3 separate regions of the Homo sapiens genome follow, and all the other regions are linked to region 1. The links are contacts of gene promoters, found by promoter capture Hi-C in blood cells and fetal thymus (Javierre and others, 2016). All regions are on one chromosome and are shown on one strand. The core of a region is centred on a gene start or on the middle of the fragment in contact, and the rest is flanking DNA. Distances in the headings are between cores, read along the strand shown. Region 1 holds the start of FRMD7 (FERM domain containing 7). Region 2 has its middle 47 kb from the start of HS6ST2-AS1. Region 3 has its middle 16 kb from the start of FIRRE.

Region 1 (3,109 bases), core at 158-2,657:
AGCTCACTAATTCAGGTACTGCAGCACTGTGAGCATACACCACCAGTCTGCAAATGGATAAACTACTCAAAAGATATTTTCCACCCCTTAAATATAGTTCCAAGAAAGAATAGGAAATGCCTCATACCTCTAATGGAAGCTATTTGCTACAAAAACAAATCATTCAGGTCCGTGGAACTAGAAATGCCTTTTGCGCATAAAACTGAAAGGAAGAGACAGCAAAACAGCAGATGAAGACATGAAGTCATCACTCACAAAGCACATGATTCAAATAAAAATAAAATACTCATTGGAAAAATGGGCTACCCACACACACAACATCATGGCTGAGCCACAGCAGTTGTCAGTTTATGTATAAAAGAAAAAAACCAACATTTTGTATGAATTTCAGAGAAAATAAACTATTTGTCTCTTGTTAGTGGCTAATGTAAATATCAGAGCAAATAGCATTTTTGGTTCCAATAAAAATGTAGAACTTTTCAAAATGCTCATACATAAATCCTGACATCAAAATGTACATATCTTAAGATGTTGGAACATGAGCACCAAATGATGTGCTTAATACATTTGTTCTTTCTTGAAGAGATGAGGTATAATTGTATGCAATCATCTTGTAGCTAGGAATTTATTAAGAACTCTGAACTATAAGTACTAAATCAAACTAAATAGTCTCTTATCCTATTTTTCTCTCTCATACTTGTCATTCCTTCCTGAAGTTCTCATTACAACTACATAATTCTACCCCTTATAACCCATAGGTTTTCTTCAGAAAAGGAGGATAGCTTCCCCCACTCCTTTCCCTCAGAACAACAGTTTTCTCCCCACAAATGCTCATGGGGTGAGACCCACAGACATAATTTCAATGAACAACAATACCTTATTGGGTAAAAGAACTAGTTTATTGCTGCTTTACTTTTTGCAAATAGTTATCCTGTCTTTAAAATTTGCTATTGTTGTCCCTTGAGAAAAGACAACTTGTTCTAAGAGAAAGGTTAATGGAAAAATATGAACTACATTGTGATGTTAAATACAGATTATTTTTCCAAAGCTAAAAATCACAGTCCTCCTTCATTCAGTCCTAAAGAAGACATAACATTGCTCTCTAATGGGCTGTTCACAAATGACAATTATTGAATGAATAATAAAGGAATAATAGCAATGTGATTTCCACTTACATCAACCACAAAAATCTTCTGGGAATCATCCAAAAACTGCACTTTTAAATGTAGCATTCTCAGCGAGGCCGTTGGGCTGCAAGCAGGCTCAGAGTGCTGTGGGTGCTTTCTCCAGGAATTTCACTCCCAGCTGGATGTGGTGCACTCGGGCCCCCCCACCCCCAGCCAGGCATTCCCACTGTCAGCGGGGCACACTTCCGTTTGCTTGAAGTAATGCACACCCAAGGGCATTTGTGCTGCCAAGTGCAGGGGATCAATAGCATCTGGGCAGTCTCCTGTTTGGTCAATATCAAATCTAACTGGACTTCCTCTAGCCTTCTTAAACTCAGCTCCTTTCTTCAAAGAAAAATATAAAGAAAGCAAGCATTTGTGGTCCCTGGGGATTTTCTTTATTTCACAAGGGCACAATTTGAAAACCCTAGATCAAGCTTTAATAAACTGAGAATAGCCATTCTCAAAAGTAAAAAGATTCAAGTTAATCTCAAATTGTACTAGAAATTTCATGGCCAAGCTAGGAAGCATCTATCTATCTATCTATCTATCTATCTATCTATCTATCTATCTATCTATGCTTATATATATCTATATATAATTATATAGATATAATATATCCATATATAATTATATAGATATAATATATCCATATATAATTATATAGATATAATATATCCATATAATTGCTATTATATAGAAACATATATAATATAAAATTATGCATAATTTTAATTATCTGAATTCACATGATTTAGAAATAAAAACTATATAAAAAGGTATATAGAAAACTTCACTTCCACTCCTGTTCCCTCTTTTCTGTGTTCCCAATACACCCCTATTGGTAACCAATTTTTTTTCTTTCTATTCCCATAGAATTTATGTGCTTACATCTATAAAGAAATGAAACAAGGAATACAACTAAGGTCGAACCCCATCTCAGCTGTAAATAACATTCATGTATTCTTGGATAAATGAACTAATTAGGATAAAGAACGTTCTAATAAAACAGTCATCAAAGAATTACATTAATATCATTTTCATTATATAACAATAATTACGATGACATTTATTCTGGACTGAGATAACACTTAAGGCAAGAACTAAGAAAACTTACCTCCATTTGTATTTTTTGTTGACAAGAAGATAATGGGTGAATGATTAAAAGATGCCAAGCACAGTAGATTACATTACGATAGGATTCTTGGCTGAAAGTGGTATGAAAATATAGAAGAAGAAAAGCCAATTTAAAATGTTCAACTACTAAAGAACTAGCTCGTTTATTTTTATAAATGAATAAAGGGTGTCAAATTGTTGTGATATTTAAATTGTACCGGATATGTTTAAAATAGTGATGTAACAGTTTTTATTTTAAAATACCAATATTTATATGACACCAGCAAACACATACTTTGTCAAGTATTTAACTTCCCATGAAAAATTTTAGATGTCAACTTAGATGGGTGAGGGGACACATGATTTTTCAAAATACTTTTGGGGGTCACATGAGCAGAATACTTTGTGGACCACTGCTTTAAAACACTATTTCTCTAAGTACGGTTGAGGGACCAACTTACAGAATCACCTGGGAAGGGTGGCTGACTTTTTAAAAATGCCGATACCTGAACCCCATCCCCAAATTGGGTTGTTAGGTTTGGGGTGGACCCCAAATAGATCAATTTTCAACATGCACTCCAAGTGGCTCTCATGCAAACCATTTAAGAAGCACTACTTAAAAAATAAAAACTAGCATTTTACAGTATTATAGCCATGGCTGAAGAGGGAAACAACCTCACATACATACCTGGACTGAGGATAGAATTGAAATAAAAGCTAAACAAGAGCCGGAGCTCTCAAAATAGCAGCACCCGTGGAGGAGGCTAGAAATAGGAAAAGGTCACCAGGGAAGGAAGGCACTTTTCCTGGAATTCCTAGTACAATCA
Region 2 (3,109 bases), core at 426-2,925, 490 kb after region 1:
GTATTATCTAATGCCCTCCAGTTGGACCAGGAATTAGGCCTGTGGAAAGCAAAACACAGAATTATTGGTCAAAAACCCTGACACCAAGGGCCAAGCTTGTCCGCTTTCATTTACGAACACTTGAAGAATATTTGTGGGTGTAGTAACACTGTGTTCAAGGACCAGGGGCTCCCAAGCTGCCTCTCCAAGGATAAGGTACCAGGCAATTCCCTCCCAAAAAATGTGAACTGGCTATCTTCAGGTCCAGGGCCAAGTACTGAGCAGGGAAAGAACCAATGTCCAAAGAACCTGAAAGAAGGCAGTTGCTTTGTGAATATTCCTCATTGGAAAAGAACCCGCTGTTAATTATTAATGAAGCCAGGAATGGTTTCCTAGCTTGGCAGTATCAGGAGCTCAAGGCCCTCCATTCCCCAGTGCTGTCCTGGAAGAAGTTTTTGCTATAGAAGAAAGCTCCAGTTTTAGCAAAGAAAACACCAGCAAAGCAAAGGCTTTGGAGGTAGACAAACCTGGGTGTGACACTCGGACCTGCCGCTTGCTAGTTATGTGGCTTGAGACACTCCTCCCTGAACCTCCATTTACTTTTCTGTATAATGGGGAGATAATAAAGTTTACCTGCAAGTGTTTTTAGAAAAATGAAATAAAGCTTCTTTCAGAGATACATACATAACAAAATATATACAGATGATGTCCGGGAGTTGCTTTAATATATTACAGATTGTAGGGAAATTAGTGAGGACACAGATTAAATTAGATTGGCTGAGTTGATAATTACTGAAGTTGAGTGATTGGGAAAGGAGGTTCATGATGCTGTTCTCCCTAGTTTTGCAGATAGAATCTTTCCATAATAAAATGTTTTAAATCATGAATAAGGTGAAGATACTGCACTCTGGATTTAGAACTAGGCTTGATTCTAAAGTATTAGGCAAGTTAATGAAGCTCTCCTGAGTCTCAGCATATTCCTCTGTAAAATGTGGGAAAGAATTTTTCCTGCCTCACTGGGTGGTTGTGAAGATTAAGTGAGGTGATGCAGACCAGGCACAGTGGCTCATGCCTGTAATCCTAGCACTTTGGGAGGCTAAGGCAGGAGGATTGCTTGGGCTCAGGAGTTTGAGACCAGCCTGGGCAACATGGTGAGACCCTCGTCTCTCCAAAAAAAAAAAAACAAACAAACAAAAAACAAAATGAGGTGATGCATAAAAAGGCTTAGTACACTGTCTGAACTATAATGTAATTTCCACAAATATTAACTGCCACTGCTGCTGTTATATGAAGGGCCAAGAAGAGCACCTGGCATACAGTACGCACTTAATAAATGGTATAGATCATCATCATTATAATTAGCATCAAGAGTCAGACTCTTCACACCTGGTCAGGATGGGCATATATTGGCATTGAAGTCTCCTGGCTGAATAAGAACTGTCTTCCCTTAGTGGTGTGGGGCTGTAATAACTGTTTCAGTGCCTGAAGTTCAGAAATTTCCATTCAAGAATAGGACCAACTAAGTAGCTTCAAGTTAAACTGTCAAAACCATCCTCCACAGAGCTTCTGGAGCAGGAGACAACTGGACATTCAAGAAGGCAGATTCAAGATTCAAGAAGGCAGGAGACAGCTGGAGATTCAACACCAGGTTGTTTCATTCATGGGGGGAGGGGGTTAGAGCAGGGCTCTTGGCCCCAGGAAAGGGATACAGCTGGGAATCACTTCCTTAATAAGTATTCTCTGACCTCCCTCCTGGCTTCCTGTTTCACTGGCCCTAACTCACAGTAAAGTGCTCAACACAGGTTTGTCAAATGAATGGGCTACAAGACAGAAATCAAGTTACCAGAAGCTGGACGCTAGATCAGCAAGCTAGAGCTAGGTAAATAAATGCTTCCAGGCCAGGGTTGGCAGCTCATGCCTGTAATCCCAGCACGTTGGGAAGCCAAGGTGGGAGGATCACTTGAGCCCGGGATTTTGAGACCAGCCTGGCCAACATAGTAAGACCCTGTCTCAACACAAAATAAAATTATCCAGGTGTGGTGGCTTGCCCCTGTGGTCCCAGCTACTTGGGAGGCTGAGGTGGGAGATTCTGATTCAGATCATCTGCAGTGCGGCCTAGAGAATCTGCATTTCTGAACCACATCAGGGAGGATTCTGAAGCCACAGGCTCATAGCTTCTGTTCTGAGAAAGTTTTAGGAAGATGAGCCCGGTGATCAAGAAAGAGGCTGAAGACAGAAGGATAGTTAAGAAGACATTGGGACCATCCAGGTGGGCTACATACAAACCTGCCTTAGAGTGGGAGTGCTGGGAATATGCCAAGGTCCTGGGAGTTTGGAGAAAGCATGTGGACACTGGGAAGGGATGGGAAACTGGACAACTTACTGATGCTTGTTAGTGCTTCTTAGGTCAAGCCATTTTTTTTTTTTTTTTGAGACAGGGTCTCGGTCTCTCTTTGTCACCCAGGCTGGAGTGCAGTGGCACAATCACAGCTCACTGCAACCTTGACCTCCCAGGTTTACATAATCCTCCTGACTCGGCCTCCTGAGTAGCTGAGACTACAGGCACACAATACCATGCCCAGCTAATTTTTATCTATATTGTAGAGAGAGGTTTCGCCATGTTACCTGGGCTGGTCTCGAACTCCTGGGTTCAAGTGATCCTCCCCACTCAGCCTCCCAAAGTATTGGAATTACAGGGATTACAGGCATGAGCCACAGTGCCCAGCCTTCAAGCTTATCCTTGATAAATGCTATTCATCTTAACTAATCAGTGTTCAGGCTCCTTATTTCAACTTCCTTCCTATGTGTTCAGCCTTGTGAAGCCAGAATCCATCTTTTTGACCGAATTCATAATGTCTTTGCCATATGGTCTCAAGGGCCTTGATGAACATGTAATCCTACTCTAGGTAGTTTCAGGGACAGAAGACCGCCTTCAGGACTGAGAAAAAAAAAAGCAATCTTGTGTTTTGGATGAATCCATGAAAAGGCTGATTAAGATTGGCTCTAGTTGGCTGGTTAGGTCCTATCAAGCTATGGTGTAGCACTCTCTTTTAAGACTTGACTGTTCTTCTCAGGTCCTTATAAGTTACATGAAATCCAGTAGAGCATTTTTAAGTCACAAAAACTGTTA
Region 3 (3,109 bases), core at 328-2,827, 280 kb before region 1:
GTAAACAGTGCCTTCTTTAAACAATTGAAGAGCTGAGAGGGGGGTAAGATGTTACCTGGCCAAAATAAATGGAAAATGAAGACGTAGGGAGATAAATGAGAACTGGAAGCTACTTTTGCCATGTGAATATTTGCCAAATCAGAAAATTGTAACTTTTGTTCTGATAGCCTCTTAGGGCAAGATAAATATTAAACTAAAAGCCACAATATATACAAAGTAGAGCCTTTCTTCAATAAGGTGGCCCCCAAAAAGGCTACACCACAGAGAATAGATGAATAGGATTTGGTTGAGCTCTCACACATAATTTCATCTTTTGTTCTATTTACCTAATAATCCAGGGAATCCCAAGCCTTAAAATTTAAGATCGTCCTCAACTGAGAATAACCCCAATAACTTGGCAGAGGCAAATGGAAATCTTCTCTGGAGGAAAGTGACTTCATCCTATCCTAAAGTCATTGCTACAGATAACAAAGTATGATGACAAAAATAACCAGGTCCATAAACAAACAAGACACAATGGGCAAGAACAGGCAGAATAATAGGCAAAAAAAGGCACAAAATTTCAGTTAATGGAATTATTAAGACACAGACCATAAAACAACTATGCTTACAATGTTTAAAAACATGAAAAAGGCAATCCCACTTCTAGTCACTCTGGAGAAAGAGACCAATTTGCCCTCATGCTTGAAATAACCAAAAACTACAAATATATGAAACAACAGTTATTGAGTTCCTGGATATCAGGTTACAAGGGATAATAACCCTTGGATATGGGCAGCAGATAATGTAATACCAACAAATATGTCAGCTTACTGACTTAAAATAGTTTCTAGGTTTCCAATGAGAACACATGGACATAGGGAGAGGAACAACATACACTGGGGCCTATGGGCAGGTGGGGTGGGGAGAGGGAGAGCATTAGGAAAAATAGTTAATGCTTGCTTGGCTTAATACCTAGGTGATGGGATGATCTGTGCAGCAAACCACCATGGCACACATTTACCTATGTAACAAACCTGCACATCCTGCACATGTACTCCTGAACTAAAAATAAAAAATAAATAAATAAAATAACAATTCTAACTAGTTTCCAAAAAGGTGAGGTTAAGAATATAAGACCCATTTTCCATGACCCCAGACTTCAAAATGTAGTATTTAAAAGAACTTCCACTTCATTTTTTTTTTTTTTTTTTTTGAGACAGAGTCTCGCTCTGTTGCCCAGGCTGGAGTGCAGTGGCACCATCTTGGCTCATTGCAACCTCCGCCTCCTGAGTTCAACTGATTCTCCTGTCTCAGCCTCCTGAGTAGCTGGGATTACCGGTGCGTGCCACCACGCCCAGCTAATTTTTGTATTATTATTATTTTTTTTTTAGTAAAGATGGGGTTTCACCATATTGGACAGGCTGGTCTTGAACTCCTGACCTCAAGTGATCCACCTGCCTCTGCCTCCCAAAGTGCTGGGATTACAGGCATGAACCACCACACCTGGCCAAAATTACAAACTTTGAAATAACATAGAAATCAAGGTAGAAACTCAAAGGGAAATTAGAAAATATTTTCAATGAAATGAAAATAAATTAACATGTCCAAATTTGTGGAATGTGACCAAATCAGTACGTAAGGGTAAATTTATAGCACTAAACCACCTATGTTACTAAAGACTACAGGCCTCAAATCCATGACCTCAGCTTCTAACTTAAGAATGAAAAAGATGAGCAAATTAAACTAAAGGTAAGCAGAAGGAAGGAAGTAATAAAAGTGGAGTTAAAGTGAAATAAAAAGAGAAAAACAATAGAGAAAAACCAGTAAAACAAAAAATTGATTCTTTAAGAAAATTAATAAAATTTTAAAACCTCCAATCAAAATAATTAGAAATAAAAGAGTGAAGGCCCCCAAAAACCTATATTAGGAATGAAAGAAAAGTCATCACCACAGATTATGTTTATTAAAAAATAAGAGGCCTGGTGCGGTGGCTCACGCCTGTAATCCCAACATTTTGGGAGGCTGAGGCTGGTGGATCACCTGAGGTTAGGGGTTCTAGACCAGCCTGTCCAACGTGGTGAAACCCTGCCTGTACTAAACATACAAAAATTAGCCGGGTGTGGTGGCGGACGCCTGTAATACCAGCTATTTGGGAGTCTGAGGCAAGAGAATTGCTTGAACCCGGGAGGCTGAGGTTGCAGTGAGCCGAGATCGTGCCACTGCACTCCAGCCTGGGCAACAAGAGTGAGACTCCATAAAAAAAAATTAATATTATTAACAACTTTATTTCATATCATATAGTTAAAAATTTAAATGAAATCGATAAATTCTTTGAAAGACACAAGCACCACAAACAAGGAAAACTCTCCCAAGAATGCATAGTCCTGTATCTTATTTATTTTTATTTTTATTTTTATTATTTTTTTTGAGTCAGGCTCTCACTCTGTCGCCCAGACTGGAGTGCAGTGGTGCGATCTCGGCTCACCGCAACCTCCACCTCCCAGGCTCAAGCGATTTTCTTGCCTCAGCCTCCGGAGTAGCTGGGATTACAGGTGCTTGCCACTATTGCCGGGCTAATTTTTGTATTTTTAGTAGAGACGGGGTTTCACCATGTTGTCCAGGCTGGTCTCGAACTCCTGACCTCAGGTGATCCACCCACCTTACCCTCCCAAAGTGCTGGGATTACAGGCGTGAGCCACCATGCTCAGCCATGCATAGTCTTATATTTGTTCAAGAAGTTGAATTTGTAGTTTAAAGTGTTCCCACAAAGAAGACTCCAGACCCAAATAACTTCACTGTTGAACCCTACCAAACATTTCAGGAATAAATAATACCAATTCCAAATAAGTCAAGTGAAGAGGATAATTCCCAACTGATTCTATATGGGCAGCATCACCTTGAAACTAAAATATATGTGGTATTATTATAAGACATACTATTACAGGACAAGAAAATTAAAGATCAATATTGCTCATGAACATAGATGCAAAAATTCTAAACTTCTTTTTAGGAAATCTAATCCAACAAAATATGCAAAGGACAATACTTCTTGACCATGTAATGTTTATCTCAAGAAAGCAAGGTTAAGTTACAATTCAAAAGAGCAGTCAATGTAATTCACTATGTT

What was found. Contacts are between HindIII fragments. The CHiCAGO score rates a contact against its expected background, and 5 or more counts as called.
Region 2: a fragment that was not itself captured here is called in contact with the fragment with the promoter of FRMD7 in region 1 in 10 of 17 cell types (non-activated CD4 T cells, naive B cells, naive CD4 T cells and 7 more); the score reaches 8.1 in non-activated CD4 T cells.
Region 3: a contact is called between a fragment that was not itself captured here and the fragment with the promoter of FRMD7 in region 1, in 1 of 17 cell types (neutrophils). The highest score is 5.1, in neutrophils.

What each region holds. Positions count from the first base shown.
Region 1 is chrX:132,126,613-132,129,721 of GRCh38, forward strand. FRMD7 (FERM domain containing 7) reads right to left here and starts at 1,408. Exons shown (of 12, transcript NM_194277.3): 1 at 1,176-1,408. The coding sequence starts at 1,232. The HindIII fragment of the contact is 2,038 bases long and covers 1-1,601 here.
Region 2 is chrX:132,618,661-132,621,769 of GRCh38, forward strand. No RefSeq gene overlaps it. Among named protein-coding and RNA genes, the nearest start is that of HS6ST2-AS1, 47 kb to the right of the region's middle. The HindIII fragment of the contact is 2,069 bases long and covers 642-2,710 here.
Region 3 is chrX:131,845,529-131,848,637 of GRCh38, forward strand. No RefSeq gene overlaps it. Among named protein-coding and RNA genes, the nearest start is that of FIRRE, 16 kb to the left of the region's middle. The HindIII fragment of the contact is 6,188 bases long and covers 1-3,109 here.